7 separate regions of the Homo sapiens genome follow, and all the other regions are linked to region 4. The links are contacts of gene promoters, found by promoter capture Hi-C in blood cells and fetal thymus (Javierre and others, 2016). All regions are on one chromosome and are shown on one strand. Each heading gives the region's core, a stretch centred on a gene start or on the middle of the fragment in contact. The rest is flanking DNA. Distances are from core to core; before and after follow the strand shown. Region 1 has its middle 14 kb from the start of INTS10. Region 2 overlaps PSD3 (pleckstrin and Sec7 domain containing 3). Region 3 overlaps PSD3 (pleckstrin and Sec7 domain containing 3). Region 4 holds the start of SH2D4A (SH2 domain containing 4A). Region 5 overlaps PSD3 (pleckstrin and Sec7 domain containing 3). Region 6 overlaps PSD3 (pleckstrin and Sec7 domain containing 3). Region 7 holds the start of PSD3 (pleckstrin and Sec7 domain containing 3).

Region 1 (2,700 bases), core at 73-2,572, 490 kb after region 4:
AGGCAAAGGGACCACTGAGCTGATAGCACTCTGCTGTCCTCAGATGGTGAAGCTAAGAGAGCACTGTAACATACCCTCTGGGGTTTTGGGGTCACAGGCACCCCCATCTGGATGCTGCTGCAGGCCTGCCTGGAGTTTGCTCCTGCCAGCGCCAAAGCAGCCAGCCAGTTCCTACACTCATTCGCTCATGTGCTCCCTCCCACAAGGAGTTGAGTGTGGAAGCCTGAGTAAATGGGGCACCCCTGTTGCAAGTCCTGCAAAGGGGTCAAGGAAAAATCCTGCATCAATTTCCAGATGATTTTCCTTACAGGGTTTAGAAGGAACTTTCTTATTATGCTGGCTCAGTACAACTAATTGCTCTGAATCTTCTGTTTCTTGGGAAAATGGCCTTTTTCAAAGTTCAGTTTGATTATGTGGCACTTAGCATGAGTGAGTCCATTTAGGTTTGGCCGGGTCTGCTGGGAACTAGAGCAGAAGCTTAGTCCAAATAATGGCCTTCCATAAATTTTCTTTGACAAAGACAATGCCTTTTTTTTCTCATTTATTTCCCCCTTTTTCTACCTTTGGAGGCCAGGCATTTAAGATTGGACATTCAAAAGCAACTGCATATTTGTGGGAATATAGAAACTCACTAAACATGCCTGAGACATAGGCTCAGAAAAGATGTGAGAAGACCTTCAGTTTACATCTCAGGCTGATCTCACACAGAGGGTAATACCCCACTGAAAAAAAAAATTTAAAAACAGCCAACAAAAACAAACAGAAGAAAAGCAAAAAGGAGAAAAATCTGTTTTCCAGAGTTACCAAATTATAAAATCCAAATATGCAGTTTTTAATGAAAACATTAAAAGACACAAAAAGAAACTAGAAAGTGTTGCCTATTCAAAGGTAAAACAAATAGACTGAAACCATCCCTGAGGAAGTTCAGATGGTGGACTTACCAGAAAAACACTTTAATAAAACAGCTGTCTTAAAGATGCTCAAAGAGCTAAAGGAAGATGTGGACAAAGTCAGAAATATGTATGGAATATCAATGAAGAGACAAAAATCAAAGCAGAACAAAAAAGAAATTCTGCAACTGAAAATTATAACTCAAATAGAAAATTCACTAGATGAATTTAAAGGCAGACTAGAGCAGGCAGAAGAAAGAATCAACAAACTTGAATGTAGGAGAATTGAATTATTGCCTCTGAGGAAAAGTAAGAAAAAAACGGAAGAAAAGTGAACAGAGCCCAAGGAACTTGAGGAAATACATCAGGTGGACAAGCATATGCATTGTGGAAATTACAGAAATAGAAGAGAGAAACAGAGAAAGGCGGAGAGAGATTATTTCAAGAAATAATGGCCAAAAACTTTGATGTTGTATGTGAATCCACAAATCTAAAAAGTTCAACTAACTCCAAGTAAGATAAACTCAGAGACCTATACAAAAATGCATTATAATCTGTCAAAAGCCAAAGATAAAAAAAATCTCAAAAGCATCAAAAAATAAATAATTCATCCAATACAAGTAATTCTCAATAAAATGACCAACAGATTTGTCATCAGAAAACCTTGGAAACCGAAGGTAGTGGGTTGGTACATTCAAAGTGTTGAAAGAAAAATAAGTGTCAACAAGAATTCCACGTCAGGCAAAACTGTCCTTCAAAAATGAGGGAGAAATTAAGACATTCCCAGATAAACAAAAACTGAGGGCATTCACTACCATTAGACATGCCCTGAAATAAATGCCAAAGGTAATACTTGAGATTAAAGTGAAAGAACAAAAGACAGTAACTTGAAGCCACATAAAGAAATAAAGATCTCTGGTAAAGATAAATATCTGGTTTAATTGTAAAGCCAGTATTATTATAACTTTAGTTTGCAACACCAATTTTTATTTCCACGTGATTTAAAAGACAAAAGCATAAAAAATCATTAGTCTATGTTTTGGAGTATACGATGTATAAAGATACATTTAGTGAAATCAAAGATATAATTAGTGAAAGGTGGTGGAGCAGGAGCCATATAAGAGCAGAGTGTTTCCATGTAATTGAAGTTAAAAAGGCATAATTTCAATTTATGGCCTGCCATGGCATGAAATGGAGTACAGTGGGCAGAAAAGACATGGGAAATCTTATTTAATCAGTATGACAAACAATAAGTAGATTGGCAGCTTTGAAAAAGATAAGCTTGGTGTCTTGAACTTTCAACCAAGGCATGGGTTGAAATCAGAAAGCTTCTATCATGGCCTCCTAGGAACTTCTTATCTCTGCTGCTAGGCTGTAAGTGGCTGAGGGTTGGGATACCTATTCTACAAGATTCACCTCATTATCCTTCATTGTCTCCAGGCATATAAAAAGAGATAAATTCTAGGACAGATTATTTGTATGAACTTAGAATGTGTTCCCGTAGTTTGCTTAGTGTTGCCAGGGAAAAAATAGTAATTATAGAATGGAGAAATTAGACAGCACCTTGAACAAGGGAACAAAATAAATGTTGTCAATGACGGGCAAATAGACATTTTATGCCTTCAGATATGATACCCTAAGAAGGACATATCAAATATGTGGTATTCCAGCCAGGAATACACAAATGAATCTAAAAATGAGGAAGGATTGAACACGCCCAGAATGAAGAACGTTCTATTTAAAAGAAAATGAAGTCAAACTACATTCTTCAAAAATATCGAAGTCATAAAAGACAAAAAAAAAAAGAGGC
Region 2 (2,953 bases), core at 22-2,521, 370 kb before region 4:
CTGGGGGGTTATTCTTACCAAACAATTAGTTATTCTTGAAGCTGTGAGCCCCTATTGATACATCCTCTTCCCATAGCAAGGCTTATAAATTTTTACTGATCTCTCCAATAATTAATGCAGGTCTTTGAAAACTGTATTGTTAAAACAATCAGATTAATGACAGACCCACAGAATTCAGACTACTATTTCCTTTGGCATTACTAACTGAATAAAATATATTCTTTTGCTTCATCACAGTTGTTTTTACGAACATAAATCTCCTTAAGAAGTATGGAACATGAAACATTAGCAGCTGGACTGATGGTCAGGTGATCAGACTTAAATCTCGGCTCGATAGTACCACGCAGTCTCACACAAATGCTTCAAGTTTGGGCTTCAGCTTCCCTATTGATAAAAAGTGTTACTCAAATTTATCTCTCAGCTCTCCTTGAATTCTGAAGCACAATGATTCTTCACACTTCTGAACCAGCTTCACAGACACTTCACTACGGGAGCAGTAACATCTTTTCCTTGTGATAAAATTACAATGGCATGATCCCCAAAACACACCCTGTATTTAAAGATGCAAGCCCACCATTAAATGGATGGGACAAACAAAATCTCAACCTTACATTTGATATGACTTTTCACATTTACAAAGAATTACATTCACGTTATCCAACTCGCAACATTACCGATTATAATTACCAATTTTAGACACAAGATAAGCACTACTGATGTAGAATGACTTTTTTTTTTTTTTTTTTTTTTGAGATGACAGATTCTCACTCTGTCACCCAGGCTGGAGTGCAATGGTACAATCTTGGCTCACTGCAACCTCCGCCTCCCGGGTTCAAGTGATTCTCCTGCCTCAGCCTCCAGAGTAGCTGGGATTACAAGCACGCATCACCATGCCTGGCTAATTTTTGTATTTTTAGTAGAGACAGGGTTTCACCATGCTGGCCAGGCTAGTCTCAAACTCCTGACCTCAGGTGATCCGCCCGCCTCGGCCTCCCAAAGTGCTGGGATTACAACAGGTGTGAGCTGCCACACCCAGCCTAGAATGATTCTTTTAATTAATTGTTTAGCTGTAAAAAAATCAAAAAGACGAAGCAGAAAGCTACAGGCAAATTTTAGAAGTAAAAGTGGTTTTCAGTTGATTTGGGAAGGGAATGATGGGGCTAGAGGAGTGAGGAGGGAGAAAAAGGTTAAGAGTAGAGTTTGAGAAAGGTGGCATGCTCCTTCATTTCCTTAATTATTTCAACTTCAGTATGATTTTCAGAGAATCTGAAAGCCTCCAAGTCAGCCAGTGAGTATTATAAAGAAAAAATTAAACACTAAATTAAAGACTATAAAATAATATTTCATGACTCACTCAAAACTAACACTTGGTTCCAACAGTCACACTCTGCACTTGATCCTGCTCAATCCTATCTGCTCCCATTGCCCAGCAGAAGCCAGGCCCATGGAAGCAGGGAGCCACGCACAACTTAAGTGCAGACAGGGACAAGAAGCTCAAGGCTAATGCTGCAAAAGGCAACAGTTAGGCGTTATGGGCTGAATTGTGTCCCCCCAAGATTTATATGTTGAAGTCCTAACCCCCAGTACCTCAAATGTAACTGTATTTGGAGATAAGGTCTTTAAAGAGATAATTAGGTTAAAATGAAATCAGTAGAGTGTGTCCTAACTTAACATGACTAATGTCTTCATATGAAAAGATGACGACAGGCACACACTGAGAAAAGACCATGTGAAGACACAGGGAGAAGGTGGCCATCTGCAAGACAAAGAGAGAGGCCTCAGAAGAAAGCAACCCTTCCAACTTTGATCTCGAATTTCTACTCTCTAGAACTGTAAGAAAATTAATTTCTGTTGTTTCAGTGCCCTGTTTATGGTACTTTATTACAGCAGCCTAGTTAACTATTACTTTAGGAAAGGCTACAGATTAGAGGGCAAAAGGAAAATTCTCCAGGATGACAGGTAACAAGCCCCTGCTATTCCCTTTTAATAAGCAAAAGGGTCTGGATGAGAAGGTATATCCTTGCACCAGCCCACACAGGAGGAATGTGGGTTTGAAGACATGCAAAGTTGTAAAAGGAGGTGAATCTTTCACTCTAGCCAAAAACAGCGATGTATAATACTCTAATCCAGTGGTTTTCCCAGCTGTGTACATGAGAATCCTAAGATTCAAAGAAGCTGCCTGGGTATAGAGACAGGGTGGCTGCAAAGATCAACAAAGGAGGCATGGTGAAAAAGACTCTTGTTCACTCAACCCCACACCACTTTTGCAACCACAGTAGTTCCATTTCTGTTTTAAAGATTCAAGTTCTATAACAGGTTTATGGGGAAGGGAGACGTCCAGTGTAAAAAGGAAAAAGAAAAAGTTTTAAAAAATCACTGTTGTTTATTTCTGGGTAAGATGGCAAAATAAATATACACATTTGCATTTGCCCTCATCCAAAGCTACTAAAAGCACAGTAAAGAGATTCTTCTTATAAAAGCACAAACCCACAGGAAATAGAATAAGAAAAATGACATTTTTGAAGCAAATGATCTAGTGATAACTGACACAGGAGACCACAGGAAAACCTGGAGAAGGAAAAGAACAATTCAATGCACCCCACAAGACATCCAAAGGACAAGGGAATGAGGGAGCCTGGTAAACTCTTGAAGTGAAGGAAAAGGGAGTGGCTTAGATAACAGAGGACTATTCACAAGGAATGGTTATCAAGCACTTAAGTCCTCAGATCCCTGCCTCCACTACACTGGGAGACAGCCCCTCCCCTACTCAGGTAAAACAATAGTTTTATTAACTAGAGAGATTTTTCAAAGAGCACTCTGGCCTAGGGGACACCACACACTACTGAAGTTAAAGATACCATAGCGGAAACTGGGATTTGTATGCTGGATGTTAAGATGCTTAGATTTCTTCACTCACCAAGCTAATGAAATTATGGCACCCTATACTTCACCA
Region 3 (3,031 bases), core at 55-2,554, 440 kb before region 4:
AAACGTTTTTACTTTTGCTGAAATCCAAATTATCCGTTTTTCCTTTGGTCTCTTGTGCTTTTTGTATCATATGTAGCAAATCATTGTCTAAACCAACGTCACAAAGATTACTTTTACGTTGTCTTCTAAGAGTTTTGCAGTATTTGCTATTACATTTAGCTCTCTCATCCACTTTCAATTCATTTTCGTACATGATGTGAAGTAGAAATCCAACTTCATTATTTTGTATGTGGATATCCAGTTGTCCCAGAGCTATCTGTTGAAAAGACTATTCTTTACCCATCAAAAAGCCTTGGTGCCCATGTCAAAAATCAAACATATACATATATTAATATATATGCAAAGGTTTATTTCTGGACTCTCAAGTCCATTGAGCTAGATGCCTATCTTTTTTTTTTTTTTTTCTTTTTGACAGGATCTCACTCTGTCGCCCTGGCTGGAGTACGGTGGTGCAATCACAGTTCACTGCAGTGTTGACCTCCTGGACTCAAGCGATCCTCCCACCTCAGACTTCCGAGTAGCTGGGGCTATACGCATGCACCACCATGCCTGGACAATTTTTCATTTTTTTTAAGAGACAGGGTCTCACTACATTGCCCAGGCTGGTCTTGAACTCCTAGGCTCAAGTGATCCCTCCCGCCTCAGCCTTCCAGTGTCAGGATTACAGGCATGTAGCACCACACCTGGCTAGATGCCTATCTTTATGCCAGAATAACACTGTCTTCACTATTGTAGCTTTGCAGTAAGTGAAATCTGGAAGTGTGAGTCTCCTCCAACCTTGTTCTTCCTTTTTCAGGTTGTTTTGGTCACTCTTGGCCCCTTGAATTTCCCATTACTTTTAGAATCAACTCGTCAGAAAGCTGTGATTTTGATAGGGGCTGCAATGAATCTATACAGTACTGGCTTCTTAACAGTATTACTATTACATCTTTCGTTCCATGACCATGGGCTGTCTTTTCACTTACTTAATCTTCTTTAATTTCTTTTAGCCATTTTTTTTTATAATTTTAAATGTACAGATTTTCAATTTATTCCCCTAAGATTCTATTTCTTTTGATATTGCTTTTCAAATTTCTTTAGATCATTCAGTAGCCATGCATAGAAATTCAATTTGTTGCTGTATGTGAATCTTATATCCTACAACCTTGCTTAACTTGGAGCATATAATAACATATTTGTAGATTCCTCAGGATTCTACATACCAGATCATGTCATCTGTGGATAAAAGCTTTACTTCTTCCTTTACAATCCCAATCCATCTTTCTAATCAAGTCTCTGTCAACCCCCTTTCACATGTTATACCATTGCCTCTACACTGAAGTAGGAGGCAGCCCATGAATACCCTGAAAAGATTTGTTCTAATCCTAATACACACTGGAAATAAGCTTAAGCATACATACATTCTGAATGCATAGACATACACACGCTCCTTTGCCTTTGTTCAACTTCCTTTCTCTACCTGACATACTTTTTCTTCTCATTTCAACATAAATCAGATTATTTTCACATTTCAACACCTAAACCAAATCCCCTGTCCTTAATTAAGCCTTCCCTTGCTCACCAACTCTTGAAAAAAGTCCTCTCCTCTGTATAAATAAATGTCAAAAAGACTTTTGCGGTATGGTATATATAGTGTAAATATACAAAACAAATAAGCATAATGTTACTCACGCCTTAAAGCTTCCAAAGGCAATAATGTTTAACCCATCATGAAGTGTTTTAAGAAAATTGACCATAGTGACTGCTGAAGCTGTATTTATAAACTGCACCAAAACATATAACAGTGAAATCCATTCAACAAAGGGAAGAAAAGTTAAACTTAGACACTTGGGAGCCCGCTTTGCTTTAACAGTTTCAACTGCCCTCTGGAAAAAACAAACAAACAAACACACACACACAAACACACACACACACACACACACACACACACACACACGCACACACAACTGAACACTGGCCCCAAGAGAAGTGACCAAAAGATATCAAGGGGCCTCAGAGAATTCTGATAATTCCTTCACCCCATTTTTAATAGTTTTCATTGAAATGTCCCTCAGAAAGGGGCAGCAAATTCAACAATTGTGGGCAAGTGCTTGTGATGTCTGATATAACAACTTGGCAACCGGTCAAAGAAAACGAGGTCAGATAAGAGGGAGACAGGGCAAGGCAAAGCCCTGCGTGACAGATTGCTTGCTTTACTATTAAATACTGGAGTAGTTTCTCGTGGTCTGTGTTTACTGTTCTAAGAACTGGAACAGACGGGGGGAGACAAATGTTCTGAGAGGCGAAAGGACCTGACCAAGGTCAATAAAATGATGTTCAATAAAGTATTGTTTTAGAACTCTAAGTCAGGACTAAATTTCTAGTCTTCTGTCTCTCAGGAGTAAAAGCCTGGGAGAAACTCAGGGACACTGAACCGTGAGAGATCATCATTCATCATTGCTTTTTTTTTCTTTTCTGAGATAGGGTCTCACTCTGACACCCAGCTGGGGTGCAGTGGCACCATCATAGCTCACTGCAGCTCAGCCTCCTCCGGTGCTTAAGTGATCCTCCAGCCTCAGCCTCTGGAGTAGCTGGAACCACAGGCATGTGCCATCTCACCCGGCTAATTTTTTTATTTTTATTTTTTTGTAGAGACGGGGTTTCCCTATGTTGCCCAGACTGGTCTCGAACTCCTGGGCTCAAGTGATCCTCCCACCCTTGGCCTCCCAAAGTGCTGGGATTACGGCGTGAACTAACGCATTTAGCCAAGACCATCATTGCTAAGAGCAGTAATGTTAACAAATATAATGAAGAATAAAACCAGAAGTGTTCTAGTTGTAGCTTCTGGGTAGAAACAGCCTTAATTATCATGTCCCTAAGGATTCAGCATAACAGCAAGAATTTCCTTTCAAATAAGGCACCCTCTGCCACACCCCATGAGCAGTTTATTTTTGCTGTTTGCATTGGTTATCACAACTTGACTGTGTTGTTAATCCTGACCTTTTATTTAGAATTTCTGATTTATTCCTTCTGTTTAAAAATTGGGACTATA
Region 4 (2,874 bases), core at 36-2,535:
TGATAAAGCTGTTATAAGGAAGGACTTGCCAGGACCTGGAGAGAGACTGGGTGTGAGGAAGGTAGGCTGTCACAGTGTCCTGTGGGATTTTTCCTAACTGATAAACCACCCTGTATGGTTCAACTGATGCATCCATGCAGGGCTAGGATTCATTCTGACCTCGTCATAGCAGCTTTCCAGGGGCCAATCCCACTCCAGCCTAAAGCACCCCATATGCTATCATTTAAACTGCAGTAGGAACTAAGCCTTACACCAGAAATTCCTCCCTGATGGGATTCCTGGAATTGTTCCTAAATAGCTGGGTCTTATTTCCTGACAATGCCGCCTGCCCCGAGGCTTGATGTAACTCTGCACAGCTTCTGCAGTTTGGAGAGGCAGGGAAATGCCATTTTGTGTTTGAATCCAGCAGGTCAGGCTCCTAAAGAGGTCAGGTAGTCCGTGGAGAGGACTACTGGTGTTTACTGTTTATTACATCTCTCCCAATACACAAAATCTGGGGTTCACCAAAGCAGGCGGTTTTCTTCCACATGCTCCTCTAGGATGGAAAATGCCCTCCAGTGGAAATGCCTTTCCACTGTGCTTCTGCTCAATTTTCCTCCAAGATTTCCTCTAACTGTGGACTGCCAGCTCCTCCCTGACGTCTTCAGGCACCAAGCCAACCTGTTCTTGTTGCAATCCTCAAGACTCCTTTCAGCATCTTAACTTTTCCCCCAGTTTTCTTTCATTTTCTCCACCTGTCTGTGTTGACTGCGGTCTCCTTCCTTCCAGCCTTTTCCTTCCTTCATCTTGTCCTACAAAGCCACACGTGTACCGACAAGTGCCAAAGAGTTTGATCATTTACTTAATGTCAACAAAAGAAAAAAAAAAAAAGCTCCAGAGTCGCCTTGGCCTGCAGCACCCAAGCAGAGTGAACAAGTGGGGCCTGCGCACCCTCCTACCCTACACCTAGCAAGGAACCCCGAGCTCTGAAACGTGGAAAGGCCCAGATCTGCAGATTTAATCTAAGTCCTGCAGTCCCCAAGAGATCACAGACTGCAGATCCCTGTCTCATGAACTAAGAGAGGAGAGGACAAGCCTACCCCGGACTACCGCAGCTCGGGGACAGCGCGCGGGCCAGGCGGCCCGAGATGCGCAGGCCACGCAGCCTCGCCGACGAGTGGCCCTGGAGAGCCTCCAGGCGCCCGGGTGGGGCCGCGATTGCGCCCCGCCAGTCACCCCGGCATGTGGGCGCGGCGGGGCGGCGCGGGCGGGACGGCTACAAGAGCTGTTTTGCGTCCGGGCCGGAGTATTTGCTCAGCCCGCCTGCGCCGCTTGGGACGCCTCTGCCTTTCCCTCCCTCCCTTCCCCGACGGCTTCTGGCGGCCAAGTGGATGTGGCGGGTGATCGAGCCACCCTGCCCAGGGGCGCCCAGCACTGGTAGGTGCTGGGGGTGGGGCGAGGCTTTGGGGAGAGTGTGCGTGGGGTGGGAGTAGGGGGAAGGGAATTTCCTCGGAGGTTGCATGGGTGCATGGGAGGCGCAGGGGCCAGAGCGGGCGGGCGGAAGCCTCACCCCCGCCTCCACCCCTTCGCGGCGCCCGGGGCGGGCTCAGGTGCGGGGTTGGGCGGCGAGAGCGGCCGCGGCGGGTGTCCGGTGTCCGGTGTCCGGTGTCCGGTGTCTGGAGCCGCTGGCTAGGTGAGCGGCGGTCCCCGGGGCCTGGGGGCTTGCAGGGGGTGGCGGGGGAACTTCGAGGGAGAGGGTCTGCCGGGGCTGAGGACCTTCGGGGAAGTTCTGGAATCCGGCAGGGACACGCGGCGCGTGCTTCCACCCGCGGGGAGTGCAGGCCCCGGGAGGGTCCGGGCTGGCCTAGAGTTTCTAGACTCCTAGCAGGAGCACGTCCTCGACTTGCGCATGGAAATCTTCCAGGAGGGAAGTCCCGGGAAACGGTGGCAGCTGGCGCAGCACCCCCGCAGCACGTTCCCCGCGCACCGGCACCCAGGGGCGCCCCCACGTGGGGTCTGGGAGCGCGCGGAGGCCAGTGCAGCGCCGCCTCCCTCGGGCTGCAGCGGCGGGGCTGGCCCAGACCCAGACCGGGTGCCCAGTGCGCTCAGCCAAGCGGCGCCCCTGCCCGCTCCTGGACTCGGGGGTCACGCGGGCACCGGAAGGAGCTACAGTTTGTAGGTTTTCTGAGTTGTCTCTCCCTTCCCAGGGAGCTTAGAGAAGCAGCAAGCGTGGCACCTCCCCCTTTCAAACAGATGCTCCTCATCGCTCCAAAGGCTTTCGTTTGATTGCTGGTTTAATAGAAACAACGACTTGGGTACGATTATTTTAAAATAGTGAATAAATAAGTGGAAAGCATACAGGGGCATAGATTTGGCATATGAGTGGAATTCTCTATGTATACTAAATCTGTGTGTACAGTAATCTCAAATTTCTGAAGAATAGTATATATTTACAAACTGCTGTCATCTCTGGTAATTTGTTTCATCCTCAAAAACAGCCCTTTTGCTGGTAGATGAATAAGATAAAGTTTCAATAAGAAAACAAAGTTGGACCACAGAGCTGGCTGTTTTAAAAGAATTAGAATTCAAACTGTATTGTTAATGTTATAGTTACACTGTCCATACCACAATACTTTTATTTATTTTTTATTTTATTAGGTCGGTGCAAAAGTAATTGCGGTTTTTACGTAAAAAAAACCGCAGTTACTTTTTTTTTGGCCATGTAAAACACAATAACTTTTGCACCGACCTAATGTTTTTAATTTTTGAGACAGGGTCTCCTTCTGTCACCCAGGCTGTGGTGCAGTGGTGCGATCTCGGCTCACTGTAGCCTCAAACTCTCCAACTCAAGAGATCCCCCCACCTCAACCTCCCAAGTAGGTGGGACTATAGGTG
Region 5 (2,700 bases), core at 45-2,544, 350 kb before region 4:
CTCCCCCACCAATTCTGCCATCCCAAATAGCAACATTATTTTAAACTTTGCTGTTTTCTATGACAATAACCTCATTCACTGGTCATTCAGAAATAATGTCCTTCTGAAGATGCTGGCAACTGACTTTCACACTCAGTTATATGTCAGGTTTTGGCTACCTAAAGATGTATGAGCACATCATGCCAAGGCCCAAGAGAAGTTCCTCCAGCTGAAATCAAGGGAATAGGTTGCGCCCTTGAGGAACCAGCGTCCCCTCTATGGAGCCATTCACAGGCTGTGCTGGTAAGGCCTTGTTCTCTCATCCCATTACCCCGTTCGGCGGGGGTGACAGTGACAGCAAGCATCACACACGCTAGTGAGAAAGGACCCATGCCCGGTTGCCACTGTGACCATTTACTACTCAAGTAGAGCACAAGGTTTAAACAATGCTCTCAAAAATTACAGCCTAGAGTTATTGAAAAAGCTGAGTCCCCACAGATAGACTCGAAGCTGCAAAATGCAGTAAGTGGTGTACATAAAAAGTGTCCAATCCAACAAGCTGTAGGTCAAGCTTGCAAGATTCTGGAGATGGATGGCAAGTGAAAACATGTGAAGCCAACAGGCCCACTCTTGATTTTGACACGTGGATATTTTCACACCCATGAGATGGATCTGAAGCTTAATACAGAATTGTAATGCGAAAAGCAACACGTGAACAAAATAAATGGACACATAACAGCAGCGTAAATGCCAGGCCTGAGTTAAGCTCCTGGTAATATAACACCCGGGGTTTGGGCTTTTCCGTGCCCATTTCCTCTTGTGAGTTTAAGGCACATTACTAAAATGATCTCATTAATCCTCACAACACCTGATGAGGGGAGTAGGCAACAAATATTTTAATCTCCCATATAAGATGGAAAAAACAAATCACCAATGTGCTGTATAACTTTTCCCAGGATTACAGCTAGCACTCAGTCAGAGAAAACAGTCGACTTGAATCTCAGTAAAGAGTTGACTATACCAGGCTATTTGAAAGAAAATGCTGCTCACTAAGATGGATTTCTTAATTAAGCAGCTGTATACCACATACATTCCAGGTGGACTGCCATTCCACTTCTCACAGAGTTTCCACACCTATACTAGGCTGTCAAACAGAGTCATTTTTCAGGCCAGGTGCGGTGGCTCAGGCCTGTAATTCCAGCACTTTGGGAGGCCGAGGCAGGTGAATCACTTGAGGTCAGCAGTTCAAGAACAGCCTGGCCAACACTGCGAAATCCCCATCTCTACTAAAAATACAAAAATTAGCTGGGTGTGGTGGTGCACGCCTGTAATCCCAACTACTCGCAAGGCTGAGGTAGGAGAATTACTTGAACCTGGGAGGTGGAGGTTGCAGTGAGCTGAGATTGCACCACTGAACTCCGGCCTGGGCAACAGAGAGAGACTGTCTTAAAAAAAAAAAAAAAAACCAAAAAACACAAATAGAGTCATTTTTAAAAATACTTCCCTAGACCTCCTGGCTTCCAGTTATGCCCTACAACTGTTCTTCTCAAACAGGGGACTCCTCAGATCCCCAGGGTCACAAACCAGTGTGCCCCAGGAGGACGCAACGTTTCCGGACCAACGGGCACATCTTCTTGGGGCTCAATTTGAATAGATGGTCATTTAAAATCTGATTTTGATATTTAAATATATTTTTAAATGAAATGCAAAATTGGCATAAAATTTTCAAATTAGTCTTAAAATAAATGATACCTAAAAGCATGCTGCTTTAGGAGATACTCACAAGCAAGGCTTGGGTAGGGGGAGAAGGGATGGTAGGTGCACTTTGCTATTAAGTGTAGTTCAGGGAAAACATGTCCAAAAACAGAACAAAGCAACTTAAGAGGAAAAACAATTCCAATCTGCTTGCCTGGTCCAAACCATTCCAGGCAGACAGGAACATTTCCTGCCATAAAAGCTTTTACTTGGCTTTCTTTTCACGTGGGCTGTAAGACCTATCAGCATGGAATCCCACTTAGGATTTTCTTTTTTCTTTATTTATTTTTTTTTTTTGAGACGGAGTTTCACTCTCGTTGCCCAGGCTGGAGTGCAATGGCATGATCTTGGCTCACGGCAACCCCTGCCTCCCAGGTTCAAGTGATTCTCCCGCTTCTGCCTCCCGAATAGCTGGGATTACAGGTGTGCACCACCATGCCCGGCTAATTTTGTATTTTTAGTAGAGACGGGGCTTCTCCATGCTGGTCAGGCTGGTCTCAAACTCCCGATCTAAGGTGATCCACTCCCAAAGTGCTGGGATTACAGGCGTGAGCCACCGCGCCTGGCCAGGATTTTCTATTAAAAAATCTTAAGATTACTAGTAGTAAAATGCTATTTCCATATTAAACCTGACAACATCAAAGCTACCTATTGACTCACTTAACTATTTCCAGAAAGCCCAGCAGATACCAGACTTGCCCTGCTGAAGGCCTTTATGAGCTGGTCCACAAAACATCTTAGAACCTTTGACCATCAGGGTAGGGTTCTCTTTACTATTTCAACCAGAAAATTAGAAAATCAAGGAAAGGCAAATGACCTCAGATGTTGGTAGGAGGAATTCCTTTATATTTACTAAAAATATCTACTAGCTGCCAAAAGAGTCACATGATAAAGTTGGTAACCAGAAATGGAGGCATGTGAAAGATACACACAGGTTATCAGGAAAATCAGGTGACGGAAGATACA
Region 6 (2,700 bases), core at 23-2,522, 420 kb before region 4:
GGCTATACTTTTATTTTATTTTTGAGACAGGGTCTCGCTCTGTCGTTCAGGCTGCAGTGCACTGGTGCAATCTTGGCTTGCTGCAGCCTTGACCCCCTGGGATCAAGTGATTCTCCCACCTCAGCCTCCCAAGTAGCAGGGACTACAGGCACACACCACCACCTCAGCTAATTTTTGTATTTTTTGTAGAGATGAGGTTTCACCAGATTGCCCAGGCTGGTCTTGAACTCCTGAGCTCAAGCCATCTGCCCACCTCGGCCTCCCAAAGTGTTGGAATTACAGGCGTGCACCACCATGCCTGGCCTCCTTAATGGGTTTACTAATTTACATTCCCACCTACAATGTGTAAGAGTTTCCCTTTTCTCTTAATCCCACTAGCATTTTTTTATGTTTTGTCTTTTTTTGTTTTGTTTTGTTTTGAGACAGAGTTTTGCTCTTGTTGCCCAGGCTGGAGTGCAATGGCATGATCTCGGCTCACCACAACCTCCGCCTCCCAGGTTCAAGCAATTCTCCTACCTCAGCCTCCCGAGTAGCTGGGATTACAGGCATGCACCACCATGCTCGGCTAATTTTGTATTTTTAGTAGAGACAGGGTTTCTCCATGTTGAGGCTGGTCTCGAACTCCTGACCTCAGGTGATCCGCCCACCTGAGCCTCCCAAAGTGCTGGGATTACAGGCGTGAGCCACCGTGCCCGGCCTATGTTTTGTCTTTTTGATAACAGCCATTCTAGCTAGGTTGATATAATATCTCATTATGGTTTTGATTTGCATTTCCCTGATGTTCAGTATTTTTTCATATACCTGTTGGCCATCTATATGTCTTCTTTTGAGACGTGATGTGTCTGCTTATTGAAGAGACTGTCCTTTTCCCAGTGAATGTTCTTGGTGCCTTTGTTGAAAATGAGTCGGCTATAAAGATGAGATTTATTTTTCTGGGTTCTATATTCTGTTCCATTGGTCTGTGTATCTGTTTTTATGACAGTACTATGCTATTTGGTTACTATGGTTTTGCAGTATATTTTGGAGTCCGGTAGTGTGATGTCTCAAGCTTTGTTCTTCTTGCTTTGGCTATCCAGGGTATTGTGTGGTTCTAGGCAAATTTTAGGACTGTTTTTTCTATTTCTGTGATGAATGACACTGGTACTTTGATAGGGAATGCACTGAATGAGTATACTGCTTTTTGTAGTATGGCCATTTTTACCATATTAATTCTCCCAATTCATGAAAATGCAATGTGTTTTTATTTTTGCATATGCCTGCTGCAATTTCTTACATCAGTGTTTTATAGTTTTCCTTGCAGAGACATTTCATTTCCTTGGTTAAATTTTTCCCTAGGTATTTTACTTTTTGTAGCTACTGTACCTGCAATTGCTTTCTTACTTTCTTTTTCTGCTATTTGAATGTTGGTATATAGAAACACCACTGATTTTTCTAAGTTGATTTTGTATCCTGCAACTTTACTGAATTAGACGGTCAGTTCAGAGGTTTTTATTTTTTGAAGCTTTCATAGTTTTATTTATATAAGATCATTTATCTGGCTAAAACTTCTAGTACTCCTGAAAAAAAATGGAGAAAGTGGTCATTCTTGTCTTGTTCCAGAGCTAGAGGAAAAGTTTGCAGCTTTCCCCAGTTCAGTATAATGTTGGCTATGGTTTTCTCATATACGGCTTTGACTGTGTCGAGGTATGTTCCTTCTTACCTAACTTGCTGAGAGTTTGATTAAAGTGCAGTTTAAATCCAATGTTGCTTTGTTTGTTTTCTGTATAGATGATCTATCTGATGCTTAGAGGGGTGTTTAAGTGCCCAACTATTACTGTCCTGTTTAAGTGCAATTTAAATCTAATAATATTTGCTTTGATTACCTGGGTGCTCCAGTATTAGGTACATATACGTTTATAAGTGTTATATCTGCTTGCTGAATTGATCCTGTTATCACTGTATAATGACCTTCTTTGTCTCTTTTTACATGAGTTTACTTAAAGTCTGTTTTATCTGATATAGGAATGACTACATTTGCTTGCTTTTGGGTTCTGTTTGCATGGAATGTCTTTTTCCATACTTTCACATTCAGTCTACAGTTGACCTTTGAATAAGATGGGATTTAGGGGCACTGAGCACCACCACCATGCAGTTGAAAATCCACATAACTTTTGACTCTCCAAAAACTTAGCTACTAACATATTAGCCTACTATTGACTAGAAGTCTTACTGATAATATAAATAGGGAATGGACACATATTTTGCATGTTGTATGTATTATATACTTTATTTTTATAATAAACTAGAGAAAAGAAAATGTTACTAAGAAAATGATGAAGAAGAGAAAATATATTTACTATTCATTAAGTGGAAATGAATCATCATAAAGGTCTTCATCCTCAATTTCTCATTGAATAAGCTGAAGAGGAGGAGAAAGGAGTTGTCCTCATCTCAAGGATGGGAGAGGCAGAAAAGGTAGAGGAAGAAGAACAGGAAGCAAGAGAGGCAGGCACATTCAGTGTAAATGTACAGACATAATCATAGTTTCTGTCTTTTTAACTTTTTCATTTCTCCAAAAATGTTTCTTCTATACAGTACCAATCCTTCTTCCACTGTTTGCTTTAGTTTCAGTGCCCATATGATAGAAGGGTCAACATCATAAAAGAAGTCAAAAACAGTCTGGAATCATGGGAACCATTCTGCCAGATTATCTCATGTCAA
Region 7 (2,924 bases), core at 235-2,734, 300 kb before region 4:
ACCACTCTACTCCTTTTAGTACAAAAAGCTTCTATTAATGAAATATCTTACAAGACAAATCACTTGTGGATGGATATAAAAAGGTTGTGGAAGGACATCCAGCCAGCCACTAAAAACTGGTTGAAAAGGTGCTAATTTATTTTGCATTTGCTTAACTGGTGATGTTGAGCATGTTGCACTTTTAACTGCTGAAGAGGAATTTCATGACTTTTTGAAAAGAAAACCTCTTGGTTTGTAAATACTCTCAGAAAAGAAAGGATCATTTCTTGGAAAAGGGTAGAAAGTGAATTCCCTTTCCTTTAGCAGGGGACATCCTTTCCCTCACATCTCACAAAAATCCAATCAACCCCTCCCTTTCAAGGTCCAGCATAACTGCCAGCTCCTCTCTGAGAACTTCCAAGCCCGGAGGCCAGAAGCTTCCTCTGAGATCCTCCATGGTAGCCTACGCATAAGTCTCTCCCAGGCAAGCTCTCAAGCACGCTTCTTGAAAGCAGAAATCCTATCCTACTTACCTAGCTACCGGGCTTTGCAAAATCCTTTGCACATACTCAATTACAACGAACGCATTGAGGCATTTGTTGCCAGAATCCCACTTACAGTAATTTTCCAGATCTCCGTCTTCCCTACACCAACACCTGGACCCACTCAAGAGTTATTCTGGAGCGGAAATCCTGGATCCCGCTATCGGGAGAACCAGTGTCTAGAAAATGAAATCGTGGTGCCCATTCCATCCTCTGCCTAGTGGGCGTTTAACATCCTTTGACATCGAGGGGAATGGCAAAACGAAACATTTATTATTTAGGTCACCAACAACATTCTAAACCCACGTCCTCTAATCGGTGTTAATGTGTTTAAAAAAAAAATTCAGAACATCATTCGCCAGAACGGAAAGCTGAAAACGGCGGATAAAGTTAAATGCATGTAAAACAGAATGACTTAAACATCTGTAAAAGCTCCTGGGAATTGCACCGAATAATCTTCCCTTGTCCGTTTGCTCGCTCAATTCAAGTTTGTTTAGTTTAGTCTTTTTTTCTTTCTTTCTGACAGAAACGTGATAGTCCCTAAATACAAGCTGACCGGGCAAAGAAAGATCGGCATACGAGGTCCTCTTTCATGTTGCCTTCTTTTGATAGCTTTTCTCCAAAGTCTGAGGTTTTCAAAGCCGAGGTATGAACTAAAACCCCTAAACCTTAACACCACAAAGTTGACCCTGCTGGGCTCCTAAAAAACACAAAGCAAGCAAGCGCGAAGAGAAAAATCGCACCCTGCACCTATCCAGACAGCACAAACCCAGGTGGCCCCGGGATCCTGGGGGACAGAGCGGCGACAAAGCAACACAAACCCCACGTCGAACAGCGGCGCCGCGTGCGCACCCCGCGCCCGCGCCCCGGCCCCGGAGCTCACCGCTGCGCTCCTTCCTTCCATCTTCCATCGCCAGCCCGGCCGCGCGCCGAAACCGCCGCCGGGCGCTCCGGGGCCGCAGCCTCAGGGCGCGAGTGCCGGCGGCCAGCGCCGCGTGCTCTTTGTTGAGCTCCCGGGACTGCCGAGAGGCGGCGGCCCGCGCGCACCCTGGCGGAGGCTGGCGAGGCTGCGAGCCCGCGGCAGCCGCCCGCCCGGCCCCCAGTAACGTCAAAGCGAAGGCGGCGCAGGCGGGCCGGCGGTGGCGGGCCCCGGGGGCGGAGGGCGGAGGGCGGAGAGGCGGGGCCGACGCCTCGGGGAGGGGGGAGGTGGCTGGGCCTCCGAGGCGGGGGCGGGGTCTCCAGGGCAGGGGCGGGGCCTCCGGGGGAGGCTGGAGGCGATCCAGACCCTCGCAGTGCAGCCCTCGAGCGGCCCGGACCGTCCGCTGCCTCCCGCAGCCGCGCGCCCGCCCTGGGCCCAGCCTCCAGCCCGCGAGCGAAAACCTGCCTGTTGCTTTGTCTTCTTCCTTCACAGTTTTCCCACCCTGAGAAAAGTGAGAGGTGCTTTCCCTGGTGTTTCCTCTCAGGAAGGGCCGTGTGACTGGAGCCGCGAGTTGGGCGCCGTCTCGCCGGGGCTGGAGGTACGCGGGCTTCGGGACACGCACCTAGGCGTCCCTCGGGGTCCCGGCCTCTCTGACCGGGCTCCCCCGGCACCGATCCGCGGCCGGAGCGTTTAGTCCCGGGGACCCGTCGAGCCCTGAAAGGGCCATTTCCCCCTGAGGCGAGTCCCCCCAGGCGCCCCGCAGCCTGGCCTCGGGACTGCCCCCACCGACAGTGCGTGCGCGGGGAGAGGTCACTTAAAACTGCATTTTCGAACATTAGTGCCCCGGACCCGCACCTTTTTTCCTCCGTCCTTTGATCTGTGCCGCAGAGGCAAGGGCTGGAACGGCGCCCTCCCCTGGTAGAGGGACGGAGAGACCGCAAATCTTTCCCCCTGGGAGGTCCGTTAAGTAGATCCAAGCACCTGGAGGCGGAACCTGTGTGGCCGGCTACAGGGTGGTCCTGTGTATGTGTTACCGCCTTATTGTTCCAAAGAACAGTCTTTTTCAAGTGACAGGTAGAAGACGCCCCAATAACGAGAAGTGACTGACTTGGCCAAGCTTAGAGATGGGAGTGGAGTCAGGTTCCCTGGTGGCCCCACGATCTCGCCCACCATGTCAGCATGGGCTGCCCGGTGAGCATAGCTGAGATGCACCAAGGCCACATAAGTCACCTACTTTGCCTTGGCTGCCCCATCTGCATCTATCAAAGGAAGCCTTGGACACCCACCAGAGGAGCCAGCATGAGGGAGTGTATGCCTTTATACAAATTCACTCCAACTTCAGAAAAACGTCCGCAGCTCATGCTCCCCCTGCCAGAGCAGCAGTGTGAGCAGCTGTGTAGGTTTGGAAGCACCCCAGTCACTTGGGCATTGATATGGTTTGGCTGTATCCCCACCCAAATCTCATCTTGAATTGTAAGTCCCGC

What was found. Contacts are between HindIII fragments. The CHiCAGO score rates a contact against its expected background, and 5 or more counts as called.
Region 1: a contact is called between a fragment that was not itself captured here and the fragment with the promoter of SH2D4A in region 4, in 2 of 17 cell types (naive CD4 T cells and non-activated CD4 T cells). The highest score is 5.6, in naive CD4 T cells.
Region 2: a contact is called between a fragment that was not itself captured here and the fragment with the promoter of SH2D4A in region 4, in 2 of 17 cell types (M0 macrophages and M1 macrophages). The highest score is 5.2, in M0 macrophages.
Region 3: a fragment that was not itself captured here is called in contact with the fragment with the promoter of SH2D4A in region 4 in 3 of 17 cell types (total B cells, megakaryocytes and M1 macrophages); the score reaches 5.9 in total B cells.
Region 5: a fragment that was not itself captured here is called in contact with the fragment with the promoter of SH2D4A in region 4 in 1 of 17 cell types (M0 macrophages); the score reaches 5.2 in M0 macrophages.
Region 6: a fragment that was not itself captured here is called in contact with the fragment with the promoter of SH2D4A in region 4 in 5 of 17 cell types (M1 macrophages, megakaryocytes, monocytes and 2 more); the score reaches 7.8 in M1 macrophages.
Region 7: a fragment that was not itself captured here is called in contact with the fragment with the promoter of SH2D4A in region 4 in 1 of 17 cell types (M1 macrophages); the score reaches 5.0 in M1 macrophages.

Annotation. Positions count from the first base shown.
Region 1 is chr8:19,802,487-19,805,186 of GRCh38, forward strand. No RefSeq gene overlaps it. Among named protein-coding and RNA genes, the nearest start is that of INTS10, 14 kb to the right of the region's middle. The HindIII fragment of the contact is 1,694 bases long and covers 476-2,169 here.
Region 2 is chr8:18,940,938-18,943,890 of GRCh38, forward strand. The region is part of intron 1 of PSD3 (pleckstrin and Sec7 domain containing 3); the gene reads right to left. Among named protein-coding and RNA genes, the nearest start is that of PSD3, 71 kb to the right of the region's middle. The HindIII fragment of the contact is 3,601 bases long and covers 1-2,953 here.
Region 3 is chr8:18,877,152-18,880,182 of GRCh38, forward strand. All of the region lies in intron 2 of PSD3 (pleckstrin and Sec7 domain containing 3), which reads right to left. Among named protein-coding and RNA genes, the nearest start is that of PSD3, 140 kb to the right of the region's middle. The HindIII fragment of the contact is 157 bases long and covers 1,227-1,383 here.
Region 4 is chr8:19,312,408-19,315,281 of GRCh38, forward strand. SH2D4A (SH2 domain containing 4A) reads left to right here and starts at 1,286. Exons shown (of 10, transcript NM_022071.4): 1 at 1,286-1,416. The HindIII fragment of the contact is 8,347 bases long and covers 1-2,874 here.
Region 5 is chr8:18,965,142-18,967,841 of GRCh38, forward strand. All of the region lies in intron 1 of PSD3 (pleckstrin and Sec7 domain containing 3), which reads right to left. Among named protein-coding and RNA genes, the nearest start is that of PSD3, 47 kb to the right of the region's middle. The HindIII fragment of the contact is 1,279 bases long and covers 656-1,934 here.
Region 6 is chr8:18,896,409-18,899,108 of GRCh38, forward strand. All of the region lies in intron 2 of PSD3 (pleckstrin and Sec7 domain containing 3), which reads right to left. Among named protein-coding and RNA genes, the nearest start is that of PSD3, 120 kb to the right of the region's middle. The HindIII fragment of the contact is 453 bases long and covers 1,047-1,499 here.
Region 7 is chr8:19,012,159-19,015,082 of GRCh38, forward strand. It overlaps PSD3 (pleckstrin and Sec7 domain containing 3), which reads right to left and starts at 1,545. Exons shown (of 16, transcript NM_015310.4): 1 at 1,405-1,545. The coding sequence starts at 1,425. LOC124901898 (a long non-coding RNA gene) reads left to right here and starts at 1,845. Exons shown (of 2, transcript XR_007060840.1): 1 at 1,845-2,038. RefSeq lists silencers at 1,429-1,528, 1,599-1,688. The HindIII fragment of the contact is 2,141 bases long and covers 415-2,555 here.